Regions from separate parts of the Homo sapiens genome. Here regions 2 and 3 are each linked to region 1. Evidence: promoter capture Hi-C in human tissues and cell types (Jung and others, 2019). All regions are on one chromosome and are shown on one strand. Each heading gives the region's core, a stretch centred on a gene start or on the middle of the fragment in contact. The rest is flanking DNA. Distances are from core to core; before and after follow the strand shown.

Region 1 (4,447 bases), core at 1,778-4,277:
ACAAGGCTGGGTGGGGAAGAATAGTTTAACAACAATTGCAGTTTATCGGGTGCTTGCTTAAGGGACTGGCAAGTACTCTATGAGGATTATCTAATTTAATTATTCCTAAGGGGTAGATACTATTATCCCAATTTACAGACAAGGAAACTGAGGCTAAGAAAAAAAAAACAGACGTTTGCCCAAGGTCACAGTGAAGCTTTAATGAAGACTTTAATTGAATTGAAGGCTCCCGTTTTATGCAAAGAACTAGTAGAAAGGAGAGGGAAGGAATCGTGTCCCCAGACTCCTATCCAATCTTGCTGACGGGTAAGCAAGCCCTGGTGCAGGTCAGCAAACCTTGCCCCATGCTCTTCTACTTGGAAGCAACAAGTCCAGCGTGCCGAAAAGTGTTGGGAGAGAGGCCGTCTCCTCCAGTTGGGAGTGGCTGCACTCCACAGCCTCTGGGGCCCTGGAAGCTTAAGGATCCCAAATGCTTCCACTGCCTCTGCCTTTCCCAACTCAGGCCCCAGTCGAACAGGATAAGGGCTTCTAGCTCCTCACTCTGCAGCCCCTCCTGGGGAGAGATCCTGACAGGTGGAAAGTGGGTGCATCACGGTGGGGTCCTCCGGAGTTGAGCTGGGCGGCCCGGAGGCCTCTCACTTCCTTCCCACCACCCCCGCAGGCTGAGCTCTGCCTCGCGCGGGGAGACATGGGCACTGCAGCCTTCGGGCCTGCAGCTCGCCCAGGACCGCGGACCCCACAGCGTCTCCCGGCCCCAGGCAGGAACCCGTGGAGACCCTCCGCAGCCTCCGGGTGCACGCGCAGCAGGAAGCACTCTGGAGGGGCCAGGTCTGGGACTGGCGCGCCCGAAGCTCGCTGGTTGCCGCCCCTCCCTGGCCCTCCCTGCTGCCGGGCTCTACGGCCAGAGGCCAGAGCCGCTGGCTAATTTTTCAGGCCCCCACCCCCACCCCCACCGCCTCCCTGGGTGACGCTACAGCCTGTGCGGTTCCTTTAAAGGCTGCGGGTTCCGTTCTTCTTTCCTTTTCCACTGGATGCCAAAATATGCAAATCTTGGGACCGGAATCTGCAGCCAAATCGAGAAGGAGAAGGGGCGCGGCCGGCGCGTCACCGGATCCGCTCCTTGTATGGCTCTTCCCGGCTTGGCCCGCCGCCCTGCGACCCTCCCCGCAGCCGCCCGGGCCCCTCCCGCACCTAGCCCGGCTCACACCGCCGCCCACGCCCCCCGACCGGCCGCGCGCCCCCCCTAAGGGAGGGAGCCGGGGGCGGGAGGCGCAGCCTGCCCTGATTCTGACCGGAGCGCGGGACCGCTGCAGCGCTCTCCCTCCCTGAGCCGCGCTGGCGGAGGACAGCCCGGGGGGCGCTGTGGCTCCCTAGTATAGGAGTGGGGAGCCTGGCGGGAGAGGCGGCGGGGGTGGAGAGAGGGGGCTCGCGGGAGGCGGGAATCCCTCCTTTCCTAAGAACTGGAGAAGATGGGGGGAGGCCGGGCCCTCCGGTCCCCAGCCCTCCACTGAGTGGAGGGGAGGGGAGGGGAGCGAGGTTGTCATCCACCTCCACCACAACGTGCAGCTCGGGAGTTCCTCCCACACGTCCCCGGCCCGCGTGGCCCTCCCACGGCGTGAGGCCCGGGGATCCTCTCTTCTTCCTTGTCAACACTCCCACTCCCCCCGAGAAATGCACGTTCCCCCAACCCCGACTCCCCAGGAGGGGACGAGGGATTCACCGCGCCCACGCGGCCACCGAGGAGGGAATCCTCCCCCGCCAAGCCGATGTGATTTGGGGTCGCACCCCCATGCTCCCGCCCTCTCCTCCCCCTCGCCCGCGGGCCGGCTGCGCGCGCCTCGGGAGCAGGCCCCAGGGAGCACAGCAGCCGCCCCCGGGATCTGCTGCCGCTCCGGGAGGTGAAAGCGCTCCGGGTCGGCACACAGGCCGCCCTTGACTGCGGAGCGCCGGCAGGCAGCAATGGGGACAGCCCTGTGGAAGGCGAGGGGGAGGGCAGAGACTAGGGGAGGCCCCCAGTGGCTCAGAGACTGTGGGTTCGGCGTCCTCCTTCTGGAACTCTGGCGGGCCCTTCGCAGGCAGCAGTAGACAGCGACTGCGCCCGGGCCTGCTGGGCCCTCCTGCCATCCTGTGGCCACAGAGGCTGCTTGGAACCGTTAGGGAATTTACTGGGGATTCAGTGCACGTGTTTATCTATCCCTTCAACTTCATTCTTTCCTCTTCACCACGAAAACCGCACATCCTCGACCCCATATGGATGGGGCTCTTGTCTTTGGCGCAACTGCTGGGGTGCTCCGAATCTCCTCGCCACTGCGCTCAGCCTAGAGTCAGCGCCGGGTCAGGGGCCCAGGGAGGGGCAGGGGCGGCGAATCAGAGTGAAGTTGGCACAAAAGTTCTTGGGATATTGGACCAAGGAATTCTGACAAGTTGAAACACCCCCCCAACCCTGCGCGCACCCCTCCTTCCCCCCACAAAGGGAAGCACTCCCTTTCTCTTAATCTCGGATAGGATCCCGAACGCTGGAGCCGCTGAGGTAGCAGGGGCGCAACGCACGCCTTCCGGGTTCCCCAGCAGTTCCCGGGCTGCAAAGGGATTTCGCCAGATGTTTTCAACTCTCTTTCTAACTGCTGGGGTGTTGGAGACCACTTGCAAACAACCCCACCCCACCGCCCACCTCTCCCCAATGCGCTCTCCTAACGCAAACCTCAAATAAACACACACAATGAGTTACTGGTGTTTCGACTCCACGCTACGCGCTTTGCGCTTTGCATGCAGCTGTATCCTTCTTTCCTCTCTCTTCTCGCATTCTTCTTGTTTCTTCTCCCCTTCTCTTTTTTTCAAGAGCCGCGAGCGGTGCGGGCGCCGCACGTTGGCTGCGGCCCGCTTCCTGCTTTCTAATGTTCCATTGTGAGGAGCTTCCATTGTGACGTCGCGCCCCTTCGGCTGGGCTTTGTCTGTCCATATATGGGCAGCTACGTCACGGAGCTTTCCCGGGGCTCAGATAAATAGGCTGGTGGAGTTCCCTGGCTGGGAGCTTTTGGGCAGCAGTGAGCTTGCTAGGAAGCGGCGGGGCTGGTGGTGGTGGTAGCAGCGGCGGCAGCGGCGGCAGAGGCGGCGGCGGCGGCGGCGGCGGCGGCGGCGGTGGCGGTGGCGGTGGCGGTGGCAGATCGGGGGGCGGGGGGGCGGCGGGCGCGTGTCTGTTTGTGAGATCAATACTGAGGCCGCGTCCGACCCCCTTGAGCCGAGATCCCCCCCCAGCCCAGCCCCCACCCCACCCCCCGCACACGCCCCACCCCCCCCACGACCCAGCCTCATACCGCACCAGCTGAGGCACCCAAGAGGATTACCCCCTGGGGCCCTCTCCCGCCCCCCAAAAAAGAGAAGATCCCCTCTCCTGGCCCATCCCTTCCCTTCTTCCCTCCCCCCTCCCCCCGAACTTTCCCTCTCGCATGCTTTTCCCCTGCACCACGGATCGCCTCTCGGATGCCGCTTGCCTGGAAGCTGCGTTAGGAGCGAGCGGCGGCGGTGGCGGCGGTGGCGGCGGCGGCGGCAGCTCGGGAGTGCTATGACCGGCAAACTCGCCGAGAAGCTGCCGGTGACCATGAGCAGTTTGCTAAACCAACTGCCTGACAATCTGTACCCCGAGGAGATCCCCAGCGCGCTCAACCTCTTCTCCGGCAGCAGCGACTCGGTAGTCCATTACAATCAGATGGCTACAGGTAAGGGCGGCGGGGAGGCGGCGAGGCAGCGAGGAAGGAAGGGGAGAGGAAGAGGAGGAGGGGACGACCTGGTGATGGATGGATGGATGGATGGATGGATGGATGGATGGATGGGTGGATGGGTGGATAGATAAATGGATGGAGAGATGGGGGCGCGCTGGGAATTTTGCGGGGGGCGAGTTGCTTTTCCCACCCACTCCTCCCGCCCTCCTCGATCGAGAAGGCTAGGTTGGCGACGCCACGGTAGAGGCTTCGGTTCTCCCGGGTGGGGGCAGCCGCCGACCGGAGGGAGGTAGGTGCGAGCGGCTCTGGGGTTCTCCCTCACCACGCAGGGGGCCCGATCGCCGGGCTACGCGCAAGGCGTGGTGCTGTCGCCCTCTTCCCGGGAGGAGCCCGGCGTCTTTTTCACCCGCGCTCTCCCCCCTTACTCCCTCAGCCTCCCACCCGGGATGGAGCCATGTGCGGCGTGGAGTCCCCGCGGTGGGAGAGGTACTGCGACGCTGCCTTTCCGGGGCGTTCAGCAAAGCCGTGGGGGTGTGGGGACGGCGGGGAGAAGGAGGGGGTTCACCCGCGGGGCGAGGGCCTGCCACGGGGAACGATCCCGGGGCCGGGGAGCTGGGGAAGGGCGGCCTCTCCCGCCATGGAGACACCGGCCGGTTTTCCGCCGCTCTCCACCCTCCCTAGCTGGGGCTAGGATTTTCCCCTCCAGCAAGAGCCTAAAGCTCCTTCAT
Region 2 (4,348 bases), core at 193-2,692, 360 kb before region 1:
CAGTGAAATTATAAACATGAAAACTCTGCTTTCAGTTCTTTTGGATACATACCCAGAAGTGGGATTGCTGGATCATCTGGTAATTCTACTTTTAATTTTTTGAGGAACAACCATACTGTTCCTGGACCAAACTGAGGGTCGGGCTGCTATTTCTTGCCACCCATTAATGAGATGCCAATGAACTGGGAAGAAAGAGTTTTTATTTCTGTAGCTGGTTACAGGGAGAAGGCCTGGAAATTATCGCCAGACCAACTCAAAATTACAAAGTGTTTCAGAGCTTATATCCTTTCTAACCTATATGTCTACATGTAAGTGTGCATTCATCTAAAGACATAAGTGATTAACTTCTTTTAATCTATAACTAAGGTCTGAGTCCTGAAGACCTTCCTGTGGAGCCTCAGTAAATTTACTTAATCTAAATGGGTCCAGGTGCTGGGGTGATTACCCTGCTAAACCATGGAGGTTTGGGGAGTTCCTTCAAACCTCCAATACCCTTGTTTGTGGAGGCCTGGGGAGTTTCTTCAAAACCCCCAATAAAACTTGTTTAATCCTAAATGGGTCCTGTTATGAATTCCTCCATTATTTTGTCATGCTTTAAGGCCCAGGAAAGGCCTAAGCAAAACTCTTGATGGGCTTTTGTTACATTCCAGCCTTTGTATAAGGGCACTGGCTTTTTTTTTTTTTTTTTTAAGCATTTAATAGTTAACTTAAGCACTTGATTAGTACTGAAACAGTTGTGATGGAGGCCTGCATTAGTGAAACCTGGCCTGCTACAATCCCCACTGTCAATTTGCGCATGATTTCTATCATGCTTGTGTATTTATTTATCATGAGAATCGTAGGGAGATGGGGTGTCATAATCTTTCTGGCTACTTTCAGCTGAGAGAGGGTCATTGTTATGGGGCACCAAATGCAGTACTGGAGTGGAGGAGGTTGATTTGTTCCCGGTAGCACTGTCTATTTTAGGGGCTTAGAGAGAGTGCCTGCTGAAACACCTAGTTTTCAGTTCACAGGGCTTTAAGAAAGCAAAGCTTAGGTTTCAGTGATTTCCAGTTAGGGAAAATGGAGAAAAAGGAAAAGAAAAAGGAAAAAATTGAAAACATTTTGAGACTTGCAGCCAGAAAAATTAGAATTTAATCCAAACTGTAGAAAATAATAAAAACTGAAAAACATCGAGGAAGACTAGAATTTAACAGGTGTAACTATAATTTTTGAAACATAATTTTTCTCTCTTGTTTCCCATTTTTATTAAAAGACAAATCATGGTAGGACTGGTTTGCTTTATTATACTTGGCCTAATTACTTATATACCGTGCAGCAAGAATAATTATTTTTTACATAGGCGTTTTAAATGGGCTTTGATGGAACTTTGTTCCATAGCAGGAATCTGAGATAAGACCTTTTTAAAGCCGAGCCCAACCATGGATTTATACCATCAAATACCTATGAGTTGGGTGAATTCCTCTCTTCTTGAGGTTCCAAGATAACTTGGGGTTCCTGGCCTGTCAGAAAGTGACATTCTTTACTTACCACAGGTCAGAAACCCTGTACAGGGTCTATGTACACAAATTATGAGGCCAGTTTCCAAGGGCTTTCTTGGCTTCCTAAGTCAAGTTTGATTCCTTAAAGGAGAGCAAAGTCAAAGCCTTGGTAAAATAACCAGTTTTTCCAATTGTGTCCTGTTACAAAAGAAAACAGATTCTTACTGCACTTATGCAAATAACTATATTGCCATAACTTAAGAATACTCACAGTTTCGAAATTCTGGAGAAAATCAGGTAGAGAGAAACAAATATGCTCCAAATTTTGTTCATAGGAGTATACTGTACTTAAATGTTAAAAGGTGTTAATAGCTCAAAAGAAAAGTTTCCTTGCCTCTGAAAAGCAAAACAAAGGATTAGCAACATTTTAAGCCGAAAGTCAAAAAGATCACTTCAGTCTCCTATTAGTTCAGTTCATGCAGTTAATTCCTGTCCTGTTTGATATTAATGAACATTTTAACTCTTCAAGAGTCATCAACGTTTTTCCTCTATTTTGATGTCACAATCTCCAAAGTTATCAGAAACCTGCATTCAAGAGCACCTGTTAGAGCTTTACAGCTGATTATAAAACCACCTTCTAAAGAGGACCAAAACAAGACAGACAACAATTATTTATGGAGGACAAAAGGTTTTAGGGTAGCCATAGTTAAAGACACAATTGATGACAAGGGTATCTGTTACCTCTGTGGCACACAATAATTTTAACATAACAATTATAATTATTAATGATAACATACACTAAGATATATCAGAATTATAGGAGTCTTCCATAACTTTGGAACACATACCAATAATATATTTATGCACATACAGCCCAAAGAAAGCCAAACACCATTTCATGTTTGACAATGCTTCCTGTATAATTTTATATCAAATAAGCCACATTTCACCTTTACATTAGTGTACTATTAATGTTAAATCCAATTTTTAATAAAACCTTATAGACACATTTACCCAATTTTAATGTTTGACCATAAAGTAAGAGTTTTATAGACCTTTCATAACTCTTTACAATTTTTGTTAAACAGAAGGTTAGTGCTCTAAGAGAAACCCATTGTGCTTTTATTTTAATGCTCAATTTACAGAAAAACTGGATGATATCCCTTTAATTTTAGCCAATACATTTACACACAGAATTGTCTTTACAATTACCCTTCCACAGCTTGCTTAAACTTTCATTTTTATTTTATCCAACTTAAAACAATCCTTTAACCTTTTAATCTAGTAAAAAATATCCACATTCTCATGCCTCCTTATAATCTTTTTACCAAAAGTATATTTTACTTTCCTTACACAACTTGCATGTAAACTGTTTTTTCAATAGTCTTAAATACACATTACATTGTTAATTCTTAGCAACCTTTTCTTTTGGTGAAAACCTTGGTAAATTTGGGATTTTAATTATATACTAGGTATGGAGCCTACGACCTAGACAGAAATGCAGGTAAGGTCTGACTTATTCTAGCATCTAGCTCCATGTGTCCTAGGCCTTACCTAGCTGCAAAGCAGGCAAGTTGTACAGCTAAGAGTCATAGTGGCATTTTATAAAGCATTTAGGAGGCCTAATCACCTTTAAATTGTACAACATTTCTTGCATAAATTTCCTTTCATAAATTCTTTCACAACTTACACAGACAATCTCTGACATGCCTTGACTTTCTGACTTGTTCTAAACATCCCTCTCTTTAAACAACCAGTTAATTTACTTTAGGACAAGAATTTACCATACAGGAGCCCTTCTTGTATAAATTCTCTTTTCTTTAAAACTTTTTGCATAGCTAGGGGACATGGCTAATTTCACATGTCCCCAGGCCGTATCTAGAATTTAACAGTCCAAAATAAATTGAACACTTTTTAAGTCAAAGAAGCATTTTATGACCTAAAGCATTTAGCAAACCTAGTATTTGACCTGCATAATTTAGACCAACTATTTACATTTTTGAAGATACTTTTACCAATAATCTTTAAAATTCTCCTTATTTTTATAACTTTCTGTATATCTCTCTTATTTCCTGGTTTCTTTTACCTTGTTTTATATATAACCTTTAAATAAGCTTTGAATAAGACAACAATTAGTTACCCTTGGCCAGGCGTGGTGGCTCACGCGTGTAATCCCAGCACTTTGGGAGGCTGAGGCGGGCGGATCACAAGGTCAGGAGATCAAGACCATCCTGGCTGACACGGTGAAACCCCGTCTCTACTAAAAAGTACAAAAAATTAGCCAGGCGTGGTGGTGGGCACCTGTAGTCCCACCTACTCGGGAGGCTGAGGCAGGAGAATGGTGTGAACCTGGGAGGTGGAGCTTGCAGTGAGCAGTAATTGTGCCACTGCACTCCAGCCTGGGTGACAGAGCAAGACTCTGTCTCAAAAAAAAAAAAAAAAAAGTTACCCTTTAAAAAGGACACAATCTTTAGAAAGAATGTTTTCCTACGATATATTTTTATTAGAAAATACCCAAATAATTAGATATCTGTTGTTTAATATAACTTTAGATTCTAAATTATGACAAGTTTACTTATGAGTATGTATCCCATTACATTTATCTAATTATTTATTTTAATCATTTACCCAGATTATATATGAAAACTGCGATAGTTGTCATTAAAGTTAGGAAACCACCATTGCAAAATTATGACCGAGACAGTGAAAATGATCTGACCTAACTGACTCCATCTTCCTTCTAACCTACAAGGTATTCTTGTTTATTAACTTAGTTTATAATTTAGCTTTGAAACAAATGTGATAACAGTCCTTTCCCAGAACAAACTTCCTTCATGTCTGTGGACTAGACTGCTTAAGGCCAGAAG
Region 3 (4,431 bases), core at 497-2,996, 390 kb before region 1:
GTGGCATGTTAGAGGCCTTCCCCGGAAATCAAATCAGGACCCAAACACCTGCCTTCCCTAAGCGCAGCTGAACATGGTTCTGAAATTTCTGGCCTGTGCAACAAGATGGAAAACAAAAATGAGGCAAGATTCTTGGAAGTGGGCAGACACAATAATCATTATATTCAATGTCACTTAAAAACCCTAAGAATGGGGCCGACCAGGCACAGTGGCTCACGCCTGTAATCCCAGCACTTTGGGAGGCCGAAGCAGGTGGATCACGAGGTCAGGAGATTGAGACCATCCTTGCTAACACGGTGAAACCCCGTCTCTACTAAAAATACAAAAAAAAAAAAAAAAAACTAGCCAGGCATGGTGGCACATGCCTGTAGTCCCAGTTACTCGGGAGGCTGAGGCAGGAGAATCGCTTGAACTCAGGAGGCGGAGGTTGCAGTGAGCCGAGATTGCACCACTGCACTCCAGCCTGGGCGACACAGCCAGACTCTGTCAAAAACAAACAAACAGAAACAAACAACCCTAAGAATGAAACTATGATATGGAAATATAAATGTATGTCTGAAGGAATGTTAAAAACATAGTAGATGCAATAAATTAGCAAACAGAATTACAAGGCTATGCAACTTATAACGATTACAAAATACCAAACAGCCATGAAAAGAAATAGGAATAAATTTATCTGAAGAGGAAAACAAATCACAACTCAGTTATAATAAAATACTTGACTTCAAAATGGATAAGGAAATACTGAATATTGATAAGATATTAAGTATTTCTAGATTAATTTTTAGTTTTAAGATAAATTGATAAAAATGCCACTGATTTTCTTTGGAAGGGGAGAATGGAAGAAATCTTACAATTATAAGCTTTATCTGGGTAAAATAATAAATTTTGAAAAAGTACGGAAGAGGTGTTTGCTCTCTTGGATATTAAAACACATTAGAAAGTTCCCATTGGAACATGCCTTAAAATAATAAGAGCCATCTATGACAAATCCATAGCCAACATCATACTGAATGGGCAAAAGTTGGAAGCATTTCCCTTGAGAACTGGAACAAGACAAGGATGCTCATGCTCACCACTCCCATTCAACATAGTACCAGAAGTCCTAGCCAGAGCACTCAGGCAAGAGAAAGAAATAAAAGGCATCCAGATATGAAATGAAGAAGTCAAAGATATATCTTAATGGACAATATAATTCTGTACCTTGAAAACCGTAAAGACTCCACAAAAAGGCTACTGGAACTGACAACAACTTCAGCAAAATTTCAGGATACAAAATCATTGTATAAAAATTGGTAGCATATCTATATACCAATAACATTCAGGCTGAGAACCAGGCCAGGCGTGGTGGCTCATGCCTGTAATCCCAGCACTTTGGGAGGCTGAGGCGGGCAGATCACGAGGTGAGGAGATGGAGACCATCCTGGCTAACACGGTGAAACCCCGTCTCTACTAAAAATAAAATAAAATAAATAAATAAATGTCAATTAAATCAAGGTGGTTGATAGTTTGCAGATTGCTTGCCACTTTGCTAGTGTTTTCATTTGATTGTTCTATCAATTGCAGAGAAAGAGCTGATTTAATCTCATTTTCATTCCATTTTTGCTTCAAGTGTTTTTAAGCTGTATTACTAGGCATATACAATTTGTGATTATTATACTCCCTGATGAATTAACCTTTTTAACTGCAAAGGTTCTTTTTGATCTCCCATAATATTCTATGTCCTAAAATTGTTACCCTGTGTAGCTAGTCAGGTATGAGCTGGGCAGGAGAGGGCTCCCCACCGCTTCTTACACTAGGAGGGTTGAGCGAACATCAGGTGATGGTTAGGTGGTTTTTAACTGTTTCTCTAAAGTAATAACTGGTTACAGCCGATGCCAGAAAAAGGCAGTCTCCTAATACATAGAAAACAACTGAAACTGATCAGCAACTTCCTAACAAGATTTCAGGAGTGGGGAGAAGCAAGGCAAAATCCTGGAAGTATGCCTACCTATAAATCCCCAAGTCACAAGTTCAGGCTGCACACTTGGCTTCTCAAGTCACCTGCTTGGCCATCTTCTAAGTTGTACTTTCCTTCTTTTCTTTCCTTTCCTTCCTGTTCTAAAGCTTTTTAATAAACTCACTATTGCTCTAAAACTTGCCTCCATCTCTCCTTCTGCCTTATGACCCTCAGTCGAATTCTTTCTTATCAGGAGGTGAAGAGCTGAAGTTGCTGTGGGCCCGTATGGATTCGCTGCCATCAACGTAGGGTAACTCGGATCTTGTCCACTGCTAGCAAAATCAACTACGTCTGATACTGAGATAGCCACGGCAGTTTTCTTGGCCTTAGGATTTGCATGATGTATCTTTTCCCATCCACTTACTTTCAACAGACAGTATCTGTGTCTTCCTTTTAAGTCCCATCTCGTATAGACAAGATCTAGTTGAGTCTTGCTTTCTCAGCCCTTCCAACCATTTCTACCTTTGAACGGTAGTGCCCAGTGGATTTACAGTTAGTGCAATAATTGATACAGTTGAAATAGACCTGTAAGTTTACCATTTAAGCAATGATTGTCCAGTCTAATTTTTTTGCTCCTTTTTCCCCTGCACATTTTAATGTTAGTTACCTTTTAGGATTCCATTTTAATTGGATACTGCCTTTCCTTTCTTTTTTTTTTTTTTTTTTTTTTTTTTTTTTTGAGAAGGAGTCTCTCTCTGTTGCCCAGGCTGGAGTGCAGTGGCGCGATCTCGGCTCACTGCAAGCTCCGCCTCCCAAGTTCACGCCATTCTCCTGCCTCAGCCTCCCCAGCAGCTGGAAATACAATTGCCCGCCACCAGCCTGGCTAATTTTTTGTATTTTTAGTAGAGATGGGGTTTCACCGTGTTAGCCAGGATGGTCTCGATCTCCTGACCTCGTGATCTGCCCTCCTCAGCCTCCCAAAGTGCTGGGATTACAGGCGTGAGCCACCGCAACCGGCTTATTTTATTTTATTTTATTTTCTTGAGACGGAGTCTCGCTCTGTTACCAGGCTGGAGTGCAGTAGCATGATCTCGGCTCACTGCAACCGCCGCCTCCAGGGTTCAAGTGATTCTCCTACCTCAGCCTCCCAAGTAGCTGGGACTACAGGCTTGTGCCACCACACCCAGCTAATTTTTTGTATTTTTAGTAGATGGGGTTTCACCATGTTGGCCAGGATAGTCTTGATCTCTTGACCTCGTGATCCACCCACCTCAGCCTTCTAAAGTGCTGGGATTACAGGCGTGAGTTACTGCACCCAACTGGATACTGACTTTTAATGTATACATATTTCCTGATCTATGTGCAAGTGCTATAGGGAATACAGTATACACTCAAGTGTTTGTATTCTATTTGAAGTTTTTTAAAAAATGAATTTATTGGCTGGGCTCGGTGGCTCATGCCTGTAATCCCAGCACTTTGGGAGGCTGAGGCGGGCAGATCACGAGGTCAGGAGATCCAGACCATCCTGGCTAACCTGATGAAACCCCGTCTCTACTAAAAATACAAAAAAAAAAAAAATGCCGGGCATGGTGGCGGGCGCCTGTAGTCCAGCTACTCAGGAGGGTGAGGCAGGAAAATGGCATGAACCCAGGAGGCGGAGCTTGCAGTGAGCCGAGATCGCGCCACTGCACTCCAGCCTGGGCGACAGAGTGAGACTCCATCTCAAACAAAAAAAAAAAAAAAGAATTTATTGAGGTATAATGAATATAAAACAAAGTGTACATTTTTAAAATGTGTAGTTTGGTAGATTGAGATGTATGTATACACTACGAAACTATCACCACAATAAGATAATGACATGTCTACCACCCCCCAGAATGTGTTCATTCTTCAGTGTAATCCTCTCTTCTGCTTTGCTCCTATGTCCCCAGCAATGATTCTTCTGCTTTTTGTCACAATAGATTAGATTAGTTGCATTTTAATAAGAAGTGGAATCAGACGGTATGCATTCTGCTTGGATTCCTTCACATGACATGATCATTTTGAAAACCATCCCTGTGGCCATGTGCAGTAATACTGCCTTTTCATGGCTGAGTTGTGTTGCTGAATTAATTGTGTGATATTAATGTAAAGTGTAAGAGACTCGCAACAAGATGTGTCCATTCATCACCACCCAGTATTCCTAAGCCTTAACTATGCATACTTTACGAACCTCACAGCAATGTTATCATCATTGATAATACATATTTTCAAGAAACTAAGAAGAAGTAATAATCCTTTACATTTTCCCCAACTTTATATTTCTGGTGACCTTCCTTTCTTCCTTAAGATCCAGGTTTCCATTTGGTGTCAGATCTCTTCTGCCTGAAGCATTTTGTGTCCTGCAGGTCTACTAGCAATGAAGTGTCCGTGGCGTCTCCAAAATCATATTCACATTGCTAATTCTTAAAGCCACTTTATGCCCATTTGCTCCTTCTTATTTGGTAATGATC

The links. The method cuts DNA at HindIII sites, captures the fragments that hold promoters and counts their contacts. A contact is called where the count stands out against the background at its distance.
Region 2: a contact is called between a fragment that was not itself captured here and the fragment with the promoter of EGR3 in region 1, in 1 of the 25 tissues and cell types used here (hippocampus).
Region 3: a fragment that was not itself captured here is called in contact with the fragment with the promoter of EGR3 in region 1 in 1 of the 25 tissues and cell types used here (pancreas).

What each region holds. Positions count from the first base shown.
Region 1 is chr8:22,692,060-22,696,506 of GRCh38, reverse strand. It overlaps EGR3 (early growth response 3), which reads left to right and starts at 3,027. Exons shown (of 2, transcript NM_004430.3): 1 at 3,027-3,716. The coding sequence starts at 3,563. LOC105379321 (a long non-coding RNA gene) reads right to left here and starts at 1,650. Exons shown (of 3, transcript XR_001745832.2): 1 at 1,293-1,650; 2 at 975-1,063; 3 at 175-566. RefSeq lists silencers at 716-955, 1,736-1,955, 2,838-3,001, 2,946-3,065, 3,928-3,997 and 2 more and enhancers at 2,066-2,165, 2,206-2,315, 2,148-2,793. The HindIII fragment of the contact is 10,174 bases long and covers 1-4,447 here.
Region 2 is chr8:23,051,863-23,056,210 of GRCh38, reverse strand. The region is part of intron 1 of TNFRSF10B (TNF receptor superfamily member 10b); the gene reads left to right. Among named protein-coding and RNA genes, the nearest start is that of TNFRSF10B, 15 kb to the left of the region's middle. The HindIII fragment of the contact is 7,269 bases long and covers 1-4,348 here.
Region 3 is chr8:23,075,901-23,080,331 of GRCh38, reverse strand. It overlaps the pseudogene TNFRSF10B-AS1. Among named protein-coding and RNA genes, the nearest start is that of TNFRSF10B, 9.1 kb to the right of the region's middle. The HindIII fragment of the contact is 5,632 bases long and covers 1-4,431 here.